Regions from separate parts of the Homo sapiens genome. Here region 1 is linked to region 2. The links are contacts of gene promoters, found by promoter capture Hi-C in blood cells and fetal thymus (Javierre and others, 2016). All regions are on one chromosome and are shown on one strand. Each heading gives the region's core, a stretch centred on a gene start or on the middle of the fragment in contact. The rest is flanking DNA. Distances are from core to core; before and after follow the strand shown.

Region 1 (5,710 bases), core at 2,307-4,806, 120 kb after region 2:
TGACCATGGAAAAGCCAGACCCCACTTGGAAATCCTCAGAAAACTTGGAAGGGGCCTTTGGGCTTCCACAGGCTGTGCAGTGGGGGAGTTGAGTCAAGCTGATCTAGATTGTAGGGGCTGGCTGGATGTGACTTGACAACAGGGCTATAATCACTTTCCTAATCTCAGGAACAAAGTGTAATCTCAGAAGAGGAGAGACCAGGGCTGAAGGAAATGCTAAAGGCAGTGCAGTCAGATGCAGAGGATGATCCTGAGAACTGGTGTTCCCGAAGGGATGAGGGGAAGAGTGACCACAGGCCTGCGGGGTGATATGAGCCTACTTTTTAAAAGCTCTTAAAGTCTTATTAGAAAATTGTGATGGAGAGCTCCCCTGCCCTCTCCGCCCTCCTAGCACATGCAGTAAAATCTTTCCTCCACTCTGATTACCCTCATTTTGGAGCTCAGAAAGAAGCTAATCAGAGGGCTAACATTGGAGAAGCTACTTCAAACGCAATTTAGAATTCAGCATGATGAAGGGAGTCATCGGGTGTGTGATTGTAAAGAAGTATTTCAAAGTAATTAAGGCATGAAGGTGCAGGGCTCAGTATCTGGGGTGGAGAGGTGGATAGGGTCGGGAGAAACAGGCCAGTTCACCACCACTATCAGCTCCCAATAGTGGAGAAAGAGGGATGGATGCCAGCCAGCAAGCAAACAGCAGTCGTGCATCACACCCAGTCACCTCTTACTACATTTGCAAATGTATCTTTCATTCCTGGTACCCTCCTCCAGACACTCTTGCACTCCCAACTTCCTTCTATTTTCAATGCAAAGTATCATTTTGGTGGCTATTGCTATTTAAGAAAAAAAAAAGCAAGAAAAAGGGAAGCTTTATGCTCCTTAGTGCTTGTGAGAGGGAAACATTTTACCTATGTTTTATAATGGGGCCAAGCAAATTTGGTCAAGATGGAACCCTTAATGTAATGGCCTCTTGCTGTGTCAGCATCAGTTTGAAGAAGAGGGAACCTGCCTGTGCCTGCACCTAACAGGAGGCCAGTCTGGCTCAACCCCATACTTTATGGGTGAAACACAGGTCCGAGAGGTTCAGCGCCATGCTGAAGGTCACACAGCAGTTTAGACGCAGGAGCAACACTACCTCCTTCCATTAAATAATCTAGGTCTTTGGAGCTTCAAGTGCCTGTTGGAGAGTGGGACCCTTTTCTTATCTGTCAGGCTCAGCATCACCTCATCATGGATGATAATGTGAATGGCACCTCCTGGAATGTACCCCATGGCAGCTGAATCCCAGACCTCTGAGATGGGCTCTGGGCCTCGGCCCCTTGCAGATAGGGAGCACAGGCTACCTGTACTTGAGGTCTGCACACAGGAGAGCCGGTGCCACGCTGGGGAGTCTGCAGTCAGATGTGGCTCTCTTGACAGTCAGTACCTGCCCCTTAGGGTTTAAAAAATGAAAAAAAAAAAAAAAAGAAAAAGAAAAGGAAAGAGAAATCCCTCCAATCTCTGATCTTACAGAATAAGGCCAATTCCTCGTTTTGATAGAATCAAAACCTAAATCCATCTTTCCAAGAGACCAAAGGAAGAGACAAAGTTCAATAGATGTTTTTTCTTAAACAGTTGGATCCTATTTGAAAAGGAAAGGGTTTCTCTCTGAAGCTGAGAGACAGTAAAATGAGCATCCCTGCAGCATCAAGACTTCAGAAGTGTGGTTTGTCCTGTCCCCATCCACCTAGAGGCCGAGGGAAGCTGGAGTGTGTCAGGGTGTGGCTGACAGGACATTTGAACAGGGGATGCAGAACTGGAAGAGATGGTAAGTTTCTAGAAGCACTGGGAGTCTCCTGATGTCCAGTGACTTCCAAATTGCACCCTTTGGTTTCAAGGAAGGCAGAGCACAATGAGCAGCTCTAATCAAAGCTGGTTCTGTGATGAGCCTCCCAGCCCCATCTAAAATCACTGGGTTTAATTGTCTTGCTCTAAAGTACATGGATTCTAAACCCAGAGACCTCATTTTACCTTTATTACATTTCTAGGCTCTCCTTGCACCTAGGAACAGGCCATTTGAGTCAAAAGCATAGCAAAACTCATCAATCCAAGACCAAAGAGCAAGCAAAACCCATAGTATATTTCACCTGGAATAAAACAACCTGTTGTTTATTCTTAAACCCAGACACACATTGCTTTGCCACCATGTATACCCCATTTTATCCTTCCAATACATTTAGCCAGCAATTGATGGGGATTTTCCAGAGCAATGTTCAAATATCAAATATCTGAGAGGTTGGACATCCTATCCCCAACAGAATAGGGCCTCGCAGCTAGAACAGCCCCTGGCATATAATAGGTGTCTAAAAACATTTGTTGAATGAATGAATGAAAAATTATTTTACTAGGAGATACCCAGAACGAGTCTTGCTGATACCCAAGGAGTGAGTAGGTCATTGCATATTCCCTGACCACCCCTAAAGTGGACACAGTGTGGGCAGGGAAAGGAAATAGTGCCCCAGGTCACTGCCCTGGAGGACCTGACTGTGTAATTTTAGAGGGAAAAATGCACTTGGAAGTTATGTAAGTTAGTAAACTTGCATCAGAAACAGAGCAGTGAGGAGGCAAACGGGGTAGTCCATCTGAAAGAGATGCCATTCACTCATCAGAACTGCTCTGAATGCTTCCTTAAAGCTGGTGGCACACTGGTGGCTGGGGGATGATGACTCCTGAGCTCACCCGCTGTCCTCCCACAGTCTTGAGCCTGGTGAAGTGGAGAGACGGGGAGAGGAATGCCCAGAGACAGAAAAAGTGTAGGTTTTAGACTTGAAAAGATATTGATTTAATTGTGTTTCCCTTAAAATTAAGGTAGAAATTTGATCAAGAATTAAGGAGCAAAAATTCTATTTTTAAGTCCATGAAATTTAGTTTATGAAATCTACTTTTAGAGCCAAGGCAGAGAGTGTAGATTATGTAGTCCACCCCACTACCCCTTTATTATTGGATGTGGAAACAGAAGCTCAGATCAGCCTAGGAGCTGTTTTCCATGTAAGAAAGAGGGTTTATATGCCTCAGGCAAGGAGTTCGCAATCTTTAGACAGTCATATATGATGGGAAGAGCATACAATACGAGAACTATTTTCACTGCGGTCATGGAATTTTATTGACTTTTAAAATTTCATACATCCTTAAAGCTGAACATGAGATTTGTGTGCTTTTTCAAAGTGAGAGTATACACCTGACCCAAGCTTCTTCAAAAGTATCATGGTCAGAAAAGATAGGGAAAGGCCCAGACACTGCCCAGATCAGAGGACACTGGGAGATATAATGACTGAATGTGCCCTGAGCAGTGTACCATGAGGATGTAAGATGTTATTAATACTAGAGGAACTTTGATGAAGGGCCTACAGGAATTTTCTGTACCATCCTTACAACTCTCTTCTATAATTCTCAAATTATCTGAAAATAAAAAGTAATTATCTGAAAATAAAATTACCTGAAGGAGAGTATGATGTGTTAGACTGTATTTTCTACAAATGGTTGCGACAATGTTTCTGGTCCCACATGCTCTCCTAAAGTTTGCCACTCCCTCATCAAGAGGTGGAGCCCATGTTCTCTCTCTTGAATGGGGACAGATTACTTAACTTCTTTGTGTCTCAGTTGCCTCTGTAAAATGGGGAAAAAATACTAGCATTGTTTTTATTATTAAATAAGGGGATATATCAAAGCACTTAGGCCATGCTTGGAAATGTTGGATGTCATTATTATTGCAGGACACAAGTTAGGAACCCAGTTATCAGTACTGGGACACACTAGTCAGAGCTGAACAACAAAAGCAACTTAATACTGAATCCCTGAAGTTTCTTAAATTCCTTCTGCTTCAGGGGATAATTCTTCCTGGGTTGGGGACACCAAGCTTGCCAGGGGGATCTGGCGGGAATGGGATGGAGAAGACAAACACAGAGACCAGAAATGGACATAGCATGTAGTGCACTTGTTTAGGGAAGGAGTAAAACCCCAAAGTCTGGGGTGATCAGGAATGGTGTCAAGGAGATGGTGATCTGAAGTTGGACCTTGAAGGCTGGCTCAGGTGCAGGTGTGCAGAAAGGCAGGCGAAGTTAGCAGAGGTAGAACACGAGGCGTGTTCTCAGGATCTGCCTGACTGTAGGTAGGGGTTCCCACAGATGAGCTCCAGGAGATAGAGTCAGAAAGGTAAATTGGGGCCAGGCCTTGATTGGCTTTGAATGACCTACTCAGGAGTTTGGGTCGCGGAACAACCTAAGCAGAAGACACATTTCAGGAAGTGAAGTCTGGCAAAGGGTGAGCTGGATTGGAGAAAGAGGAGAAGAGAGAGAGAGAGACACCAGGTGGAGGTGAGAATTGACAGGAAGTTGAGAGAGGCTGGGAATGTGGTGACCAATTCCCTGCCTGGTCCTCGCAAGCAAAGAGCAGGCAGTGGTAGGGGTGAGGTACAGTTTTAGTGCTTGGGTACAGTTTTAGTGCTATTTGCCTCAAGTTATCCTTCTTCCTTGATTTTTACCAGTAGACAATGGTAAAAAATAATCTGTACATTTCATCATTTAAAGGCTGATGGACTCTTGCCATGAACTCAAAGATTCCTGTCAATTTCATAAGCACTCCGTAGCCAAACCCTCTTCCTCCAAGGTCACACAATCCATCAAATGGCACAAGGTGGAGCTTATACCTGAGACTGGCCACTCAGGGCACTAAATCAACATACTGATGGTGATTGGTCCAGAGGTTGTCCTTGGACCCCAGTGAGGCCAATCAGAGTCCTTTCCTGGGATTGTAAGGACTTTGTGAGAAAGAGGGACCCCTTGTGGTAGTTTTAACAGAACGCCACAAGTTTTTGATACTTCTCCCTTAGAACTAGAGCCCATGTAGCCCAAGATGCTTCTCTTGAATCTGGGCAGGATTGTAACTGCTTTGACCATAGACTATAACAGAAGTGATGCCATTTGACATTTGAGGCCATGGCCTAAAAGATCTCTGGACTCTGTCTTGTTTGCTGAAACACTTGCTCTTAGAGCCCTGAGCCACCATGTGGAAGAAGAAAGACAGAAAGAATGAGAATAAACCCCCAGTCATTTAAGCCATTCCACTCAAGGTGCCAGACACAGTAAAAAGGCACTTAGGTGATACCACCCCCCAGCCATTTGAGGCTTCCCAGCTGTCAGCTCTTATGAACTGAATGTTTGTAACCGCCCCCAAATTCATACGTTGAAGCCTCAACCCCCAACGTAATGGTATTTGGAGATGGCCCTTTTGGGAGGTGATTCGGGTTAGATGAGGTCCTGAGAGTGGGGCATTCATGATGGGATTAGTGCTCTTATAAGAAGAGCTACCAGATGGCTTTCTCTCCCTCTCCACATGCATGTACTGAGGAAAGCCCATGCGAGGACACAATGAGAAGGTGGCTGTCTACAAGCCAGGAAGAGAGCCCTCACCAGAACTCAGTCAGGCTGACTGCCTGTTGTCAGACTTCCAGCCTCCAGAACTGTGAGAAAATCAATTTCTTTTATTTAAGCCGCCAAGTCTATAGTATTTTGTTATGACAGCCCGAGTAGACTAAGACACCAACTGAGGTCCCAGACATCATGGAGCAGAGACCAGCTATCCCACCATGCCTTGTCCAAATTTTGACCCATGGAATCGACAAACATAATAAACAGCTGATGTTTTATGCCACTAAATTTGAGGATGATTTGTTGTC
Region 2 (5,808 bases), core at 2,999-5,498:
TGGACACCTCAGCCAGCCCTGAGGGAAGTCAGTCTTGAATGGAAGAGGGGCGGGCGCTGGAGGGTAGTGGAGGACCCTTCAGAGCTGCCCCAGTTGTGGCCAGAGGGCTGGGTCTTTCTGCCCCTGTGTTGATCAGTCATTGGATGTGGTGCCCCAGGTAGGAGGTGCGGCTTTAGACAGGGTGGTCTCTTCCGCTGAGGCAAGACCCAAAGAAGACTAAAGTGTTCAGATCTGGGGCTGGAGGCAGCTCTCTGGATGAAAGCAGAAAACTCAGTAAGGCAGCCTTCGGCAGCAGCTGGATATTAAACAAGGGGTATCCATTCTCCCCAGGAGTAAACTTTCTCTCAGGAGAAGCAAAAATAACTGACAATGATGATTTATCCTGGGGACTCCGCTATATCATTTGCAACTCAAGCTGGCCCCACGAAGCTTTATAAATGGGCTGGAATCTGGGGGTGCCATGTGCACATGTACACAGGCTAAAATGGCACACGTCTTTTCCTGTCATAGAACTCCTGACTTATCCTTAGTAAATTACGTACTTGGAAGCGTTTCACTACTGAGATGATGCAAATCAAACTGACTAGAAAATACAGACCCCACAGATGAACTTGTCAAGGCCTGACTTCCTTTACCCAGTGGGCGACTACAGCTGAACAAGATCAAAAGGACCTACAGGCTCTGTCCTCACTTTCTGGGACTAACTAGTCCATCAGTGATACACACACACACACACACATAGCCCAGAACACACATGCACACATGCAGGTTCCACTGGCAATTCTGAAAGTCAATAGATGTTGATATTTCAATCACCCCTAAAAGGTAGATGTTAGGGCCCATATATAGAAAGTTCCATTAAGTGCCTGAGTGTCTCATTTAAAATTAATGCTATCAGGTTCTTTGGGGTTTGTAGCTACACAAAATCTGACATTGGCTAGGGTAGGTCAACAAAACGGTGGACCTTGAGCAGTGAGCTCCTAATTTTCCTGGGAAAAGAAGTTTCTAGTGACGAACAATACCATTCAGGGAGGCAGAAATCCTGGATTTAGTCTCAGCTCTGCCTCGTGTAGCTGTGTGATTGTAGACAAGATGCTCAATCTCTCTGAGCCATGGTATACATCTTGGAAAAAAGCAGGGAGAGTGATTACATGTGTGTACAAAGAATACATAATGTGTCTCCAGAGTTATAAATGCTATGATTACATTAAATTGATCAAGGTTAGCAAAATTATTGACTTTTCTCCTGCCAGTTACCACAGGGTTAAAAAATGGTGATGCTTACAACCTACAAAGATCAATACTCCACCCTCTCCCCTCTCAGGGGCTGGTACCTGCTACAGATATCTCAGGACCTCAAAGAGTCAAAGGGGCAGCTGAAGCTGCAGGGCAATGACCCAGCCTCTCCTTCAGCCAGATTGCTGGGAAAATAAGCATCCCATTTATTTGATATAATAGACATCTCAAGATAAAAGGAGACAACCTACATTTGAGGGTTCCATTCCACTAGAACACAGCAGAGCAGTTCTCAAACTGGTAATGCATAGGAATGCCTTGGAGGGCATGTGAGAACACAGATTGCTAGGCTTTATCCCAGAGTTTCGGATTCTATAGGTCCTGGGTGGAGCCCAAGTTTTGCATCTCCAAGTTCCCAGGTGATGCTGATGTTGCTGGTCCAGGGACCAGGCTTTGAGAACTATAGCTCTAGACCAATCTCAGATATGCTTGCAAAATGAGGACGAGATGGAGCAAGGGAAAGCAGCTTTCAAAGTCTCTTAAAAACGCTTTTAAAATAATTTTTAATATTAAGTCTCTTTAAGGACTTTTTACTTATTCTTCTGAAAACCTGGAAGAATTTGAAACTACTACACAGCAGACACTGTAACATGGAAACCAAGAGTGAGGAAAATCTTGTGATCATTAACTATTTATCCCCCAAGAGTTTATCTTTTTAAAAAATCTAAATGCCAAAATAATATCTCAGGTTTTAATACCAGCTTTTGGAATGTGCTTATCTGCTAAAGTTCATGCATATGAAAAGAAATCTACATGCCTTTTAAAGTGAGTCATTTTCGTGAAAGCCATCCAGCTCAGAGGAACTATTGATTTTACCATTTTGATGCTTGCCTGGGTGTTTTGCAGAGCTTAGAACAATGAGCAAAAAGTTAAATCATATAAAACTGTGTTTGCCACCGTGACAGGTGGGGGGTGGATGGGAACTGAGGGTCAGTGTGGTGAGATGCAAGACAATCGCCATCAGGGCAAATAATACTGTTTCCATCTATCTCTCACAGCCAGGTAAAGGAGACAGAAGTAGCCCTTCTCTAACTTTTCCGAGATTCCCTTGCTCAGGTTTTAGGGTAACGTCTTGCAATTCTGGGATTCCCTTTCCCAAATCAAATAAAGAAAAAGCTACATACACATCTCTGGAGGAAAATGTCTGTATTAAAAGCCAAAAAACCACATAAGTACAAGAAGAAACGCCCACCAGGCCACGTCACTGGATAGATCAACTTGGAAAAGGTTCATAAAGTTCATTTTCAGCGGTAACAATATATCGGTGTTAAATCCTTCCCATGCCCTCCCCCCAATTTTAAATAAATTAAAAAACCACAAATTTCAAATACAACTATGTTCAGATACAAAGAGCTTCTCTTACTACAGCAATAGCAATTTAATCTTTTTGTTTTGTATTTTTTTTACTAAAACTTTCATTTAAAACAGTTATTAAATATATAAAACAAATACACAGGATTTGGTCATTTTCTGCCATGAATCTAGGGCACGTGGGTGCGGGGAAGGAGTCGGGCAGGGGGATGCAATAGAGGGGAAAGGGCCCCATTTCCCTCCTCTCCGTCTTCGGAGCTGCGATCCCACCCTCAGTCCAAGGGCTTAAACATCTGCTTTTCGGAACTGGAAGCGCAGCACAAACCTTGCTTTTCAAAGGCGCTGGGGTCTCTCGGCGGCCCCATCTCGGGAAGAGGAACTAACGATAACTACAGCACGAAGCACACCGGCCGAGTCTCCGGCGGGAAAGGCACCCGCGCGCGCGGACACAGGACGGACACAGGGAGGAGCGGAGCGGGTCACTTGGTCGCCACCCCCGAAGTGACGGCCGCGGCGGCGGCGGCAGCGGCGGCGGCGGCGGCGGCTGCGGTGGTCCCTGCGGGCACTGCGGCGGGGGTGGCTGCGGTGGTGCTGGCGGTGGTCCGGCGCTGTTCCATGCCGTTGGGCAGGAAGCCGGCGATGATGGGCACCGGCCAGATGAGGGCGGCCACGCTCCACACCACGATGACCAGGGTCATGAAGCAGGCCACCAGCGTGGACTCAATGGGCTTACGGTTCAGCCGCCAGCCCGGCTCGCCCTGCAGCTCCTCCAGGCTGAAGTCTAGGCAGCAGAAATGCAGCGGCTCGCCCTGCAGCCACAGCGGCCCGGGCGGCTCGGCCGCGGGGTAGGCTGGCAGCGCGGTGGGCGCCCCGGCGGTGGCGGCGGCGGCGCTGGGGGCGGCGGCGGGCCGGAGGCGGCCGGTGCGGCGACCGCGCACCCAGCCGCAGCCCACGCAGAGGCGCAGGTCCTGCTGCGCGCCGCCCGCCGCCAGCCCCAGGTGCTCGATGAGCAGCGGCGGCCCGACGCGGTGGAAGGCGGCGGCGAAGAAAGCGCGGCCGTGCGCGTTGGTGGAGAAGAGCAGTAGGTCGCACTGGAAGCCCCGCGGGCGGCCCCAGCGCACGAGCAGCGAGCTCAGCATCTGCCGCTGCACGCTGATGTTGCACGGCGCCGCCGCCGCCGCCGCCTCCTCCGGGCCCGGGCGCTCGGGGGGCCCGGGGGCCGCCGAGGCCAGCAGCCGCGGGGCGATGGGCTCGTCCGCGGAGGACGCGTTGACTGAAGCATTGGAGGGCACCCCGAGGAGGCCGGGCGCGTCCGCGGCCCCGCCGCGGACGGGCGGCAGCGGGCAGGCGGCGGCCAGGAGCGCGGCGAGCAGGGGCAGCATGGCCTGCGGCGGGCGCCTACGCGCGCGAGGCCGGCGGCGGTTGCATGGCGAGCGGGCGACGGGCCGGCGAGCTCACGGTGGGACCGCGGGAGCCGGCGGCCGGGCGCAGTGCGGGCGCGCCGGGCGCCTGCCAAGCCCGCAGGGGCGGCGCGGAGGCGGTGACGGCGGCTGGCTCGGCGCGGGGATCCCTCCAGACCCGGTTGCGTTTGGGGTTCCCCGCCGCCCCCGGCGCCGGGGCCCTTGGGCTGCCGCGCTGCTCTGCGGGGCCGGGTGCTATCCCAGAGCAGGATTCCCCGGCTCGGCTCCGCCTCCCGCGTGCCCCGCCCCGCCCCGCCCTCCGCTCGCCAGGCTCGGGGACTCAGGGGAGGGCGGGGTTCCACGCGCCGGGGCTGGGAGAGGAATCGCCGGGGCGGGGCTGGGTGCGGGGGCGCGGCGGAGAGCGGATCGCCCGGGGTGCGTGCGGGCGGGCGGGGAAGCCTGCGGACGCGCCCGGGCGCCCCCGCGCTCCGGGTGAATCGCGTTCTCAGAGGGAGGCTCCAGGGCCCGGAGACCATCCTTTTGTCAGGCCTGAGGGGAGCTTCGCTGTCTCGCCTTAGTGCTACCGAACCTCCTTTGTTTTACAGAAGGGGAAACTGAGGTCGAGAGAGGGGAAAGGGCCTCGCTAGGCCAACTCATGAGCCAGAAACAAGTCCGCGCCACTAGCTCTTTCTGCCTTTTTACGGTGTCTCTTACCTCAAATCTGTAGAGTTTGGCTGCTTTTTAATGGCTCCAACACAGCAGACTCACTTGGGATTCTCCTCGCAGCAAGCGAGGAAAATTCCAAGAACTCTGTGGAGTTTCGAGTGGAGAGTGACTGGCTGGGGGGAATGTGAGCCCTGAAGCTGTGCCGCCTGGGGGTCCCGAGGACACAGGTCCTGACAGGTCGAGTGAGCGCGTGTTCATGAAACAGTTGTAGGTTAGAACCCACGTCAAAGGGGCAGTTCATCCCCTTTGGGATATTATACGGGAGGAGGGCTACCAAGAATAACGTGTCAAGAGATCAGATTTATCACATTTATATTGAAAAGCACTTTCTTAGTAGTTCGGCCCCTCACACTTGGAAACAAACTTCAACGACCCTTCATCATTCCCATCGTTCTTTAGGGGACATTTATGTTGAATTATTATCTATTTTATTTTAGTTGGAAGCCCTTGTACTCCATGAGCACCAAGTATTCCTGATTCGGAGAGGGGAGGGGTGGAGGGAGCAGAGAAAGGCCTCAACAAAACCGCCTTCCTTCTAAACCAGCTAATCCTGAGAGGTCTGCCAAGAGTCCAGCTACATTGCTAGGCATCCTGGCTGATTACTTTTCTGGAAGCTTTTGTCCATTGTTTTCTAACAATGAGTAAAATGGGACTGAGAAAGTTGCAAAAACGCCTCAAAATAAAGCTCCCCAACTTATTCCACCTCTTGCCATCTAAGCAAGCCATTATTCTGACTTAGCCTTGGTTTCCCCATCTGAGTTGGGGGGTGGGTGGTACCTCCTCACAGGGCTGCTGTGATAATACTCCCAACCCAGTGTCTATCTGTCCCCAGATGTTCCCACATGGTGGTTGCTGTGATGTGGTTACTAACAGTGCTGCCCAAGTTGGCTGCCTAGAGTGGTCCTTGGTTTCTACAGAAATGGTTCATTTCCCCAAGGGGATGGGACTCCCTTTTCGTTTCAGCCTCCATCACTTTTGTGCTTGGAAGTGGTGCTACCAGGGAGAACAATGTGAATTTTCCTGCTTTTAATAAAAATGACTTCTCCTTTCAACCTTTGCATATCAGGAACAGAAG

The links. Contacts are between HindIII fragments. The CHiCAGO score rates a contact against its expected background, and 5 or more counts as called.
Region 1: a fragment that was not itself captured here is called in contact with the fragment with the promoter of TMEM158 in region 2 in 3 of 17 cell types (M1 macrophages, megakaryocytes and M2 macrophages); the score reaches 6.0 in M1 macrophages.

What each region holds. Positions count from the first base shown.
Region 1 is chr3:45,339,380-45,345,089 of GRCh38, forward strand. LOC105377062 (a long non-coding RNA gene) reads right to left here. Exons shown (of 3, transcript XR_940798.2): 2 at 3,473-3,642. Among named protein-coding and RNA genes, the nearest start is that of LARS2, 46 kb to the right of the region's middle. The HindIII fragment of the contact is 668 bases long and covers 3,223-3,890 here.
Region 2 is chr3:45,222,039-45,227,846 of GRCh38, forward strand. It overlaps TMEM158 (transmembrane protein 158), which reads right to left and starts at 4,249. Exons shown (of 1, transcript NM_015444.3): 1 at 2,428-4,249. The coding sequence starts at 3,989. The coding sequence ends at 3,087. RefSeq lists silencers at 4,076-4,145, 4,156-4,495. The HindIII fragment of the contact is 4,918 bases long and covers 428-5,345 here.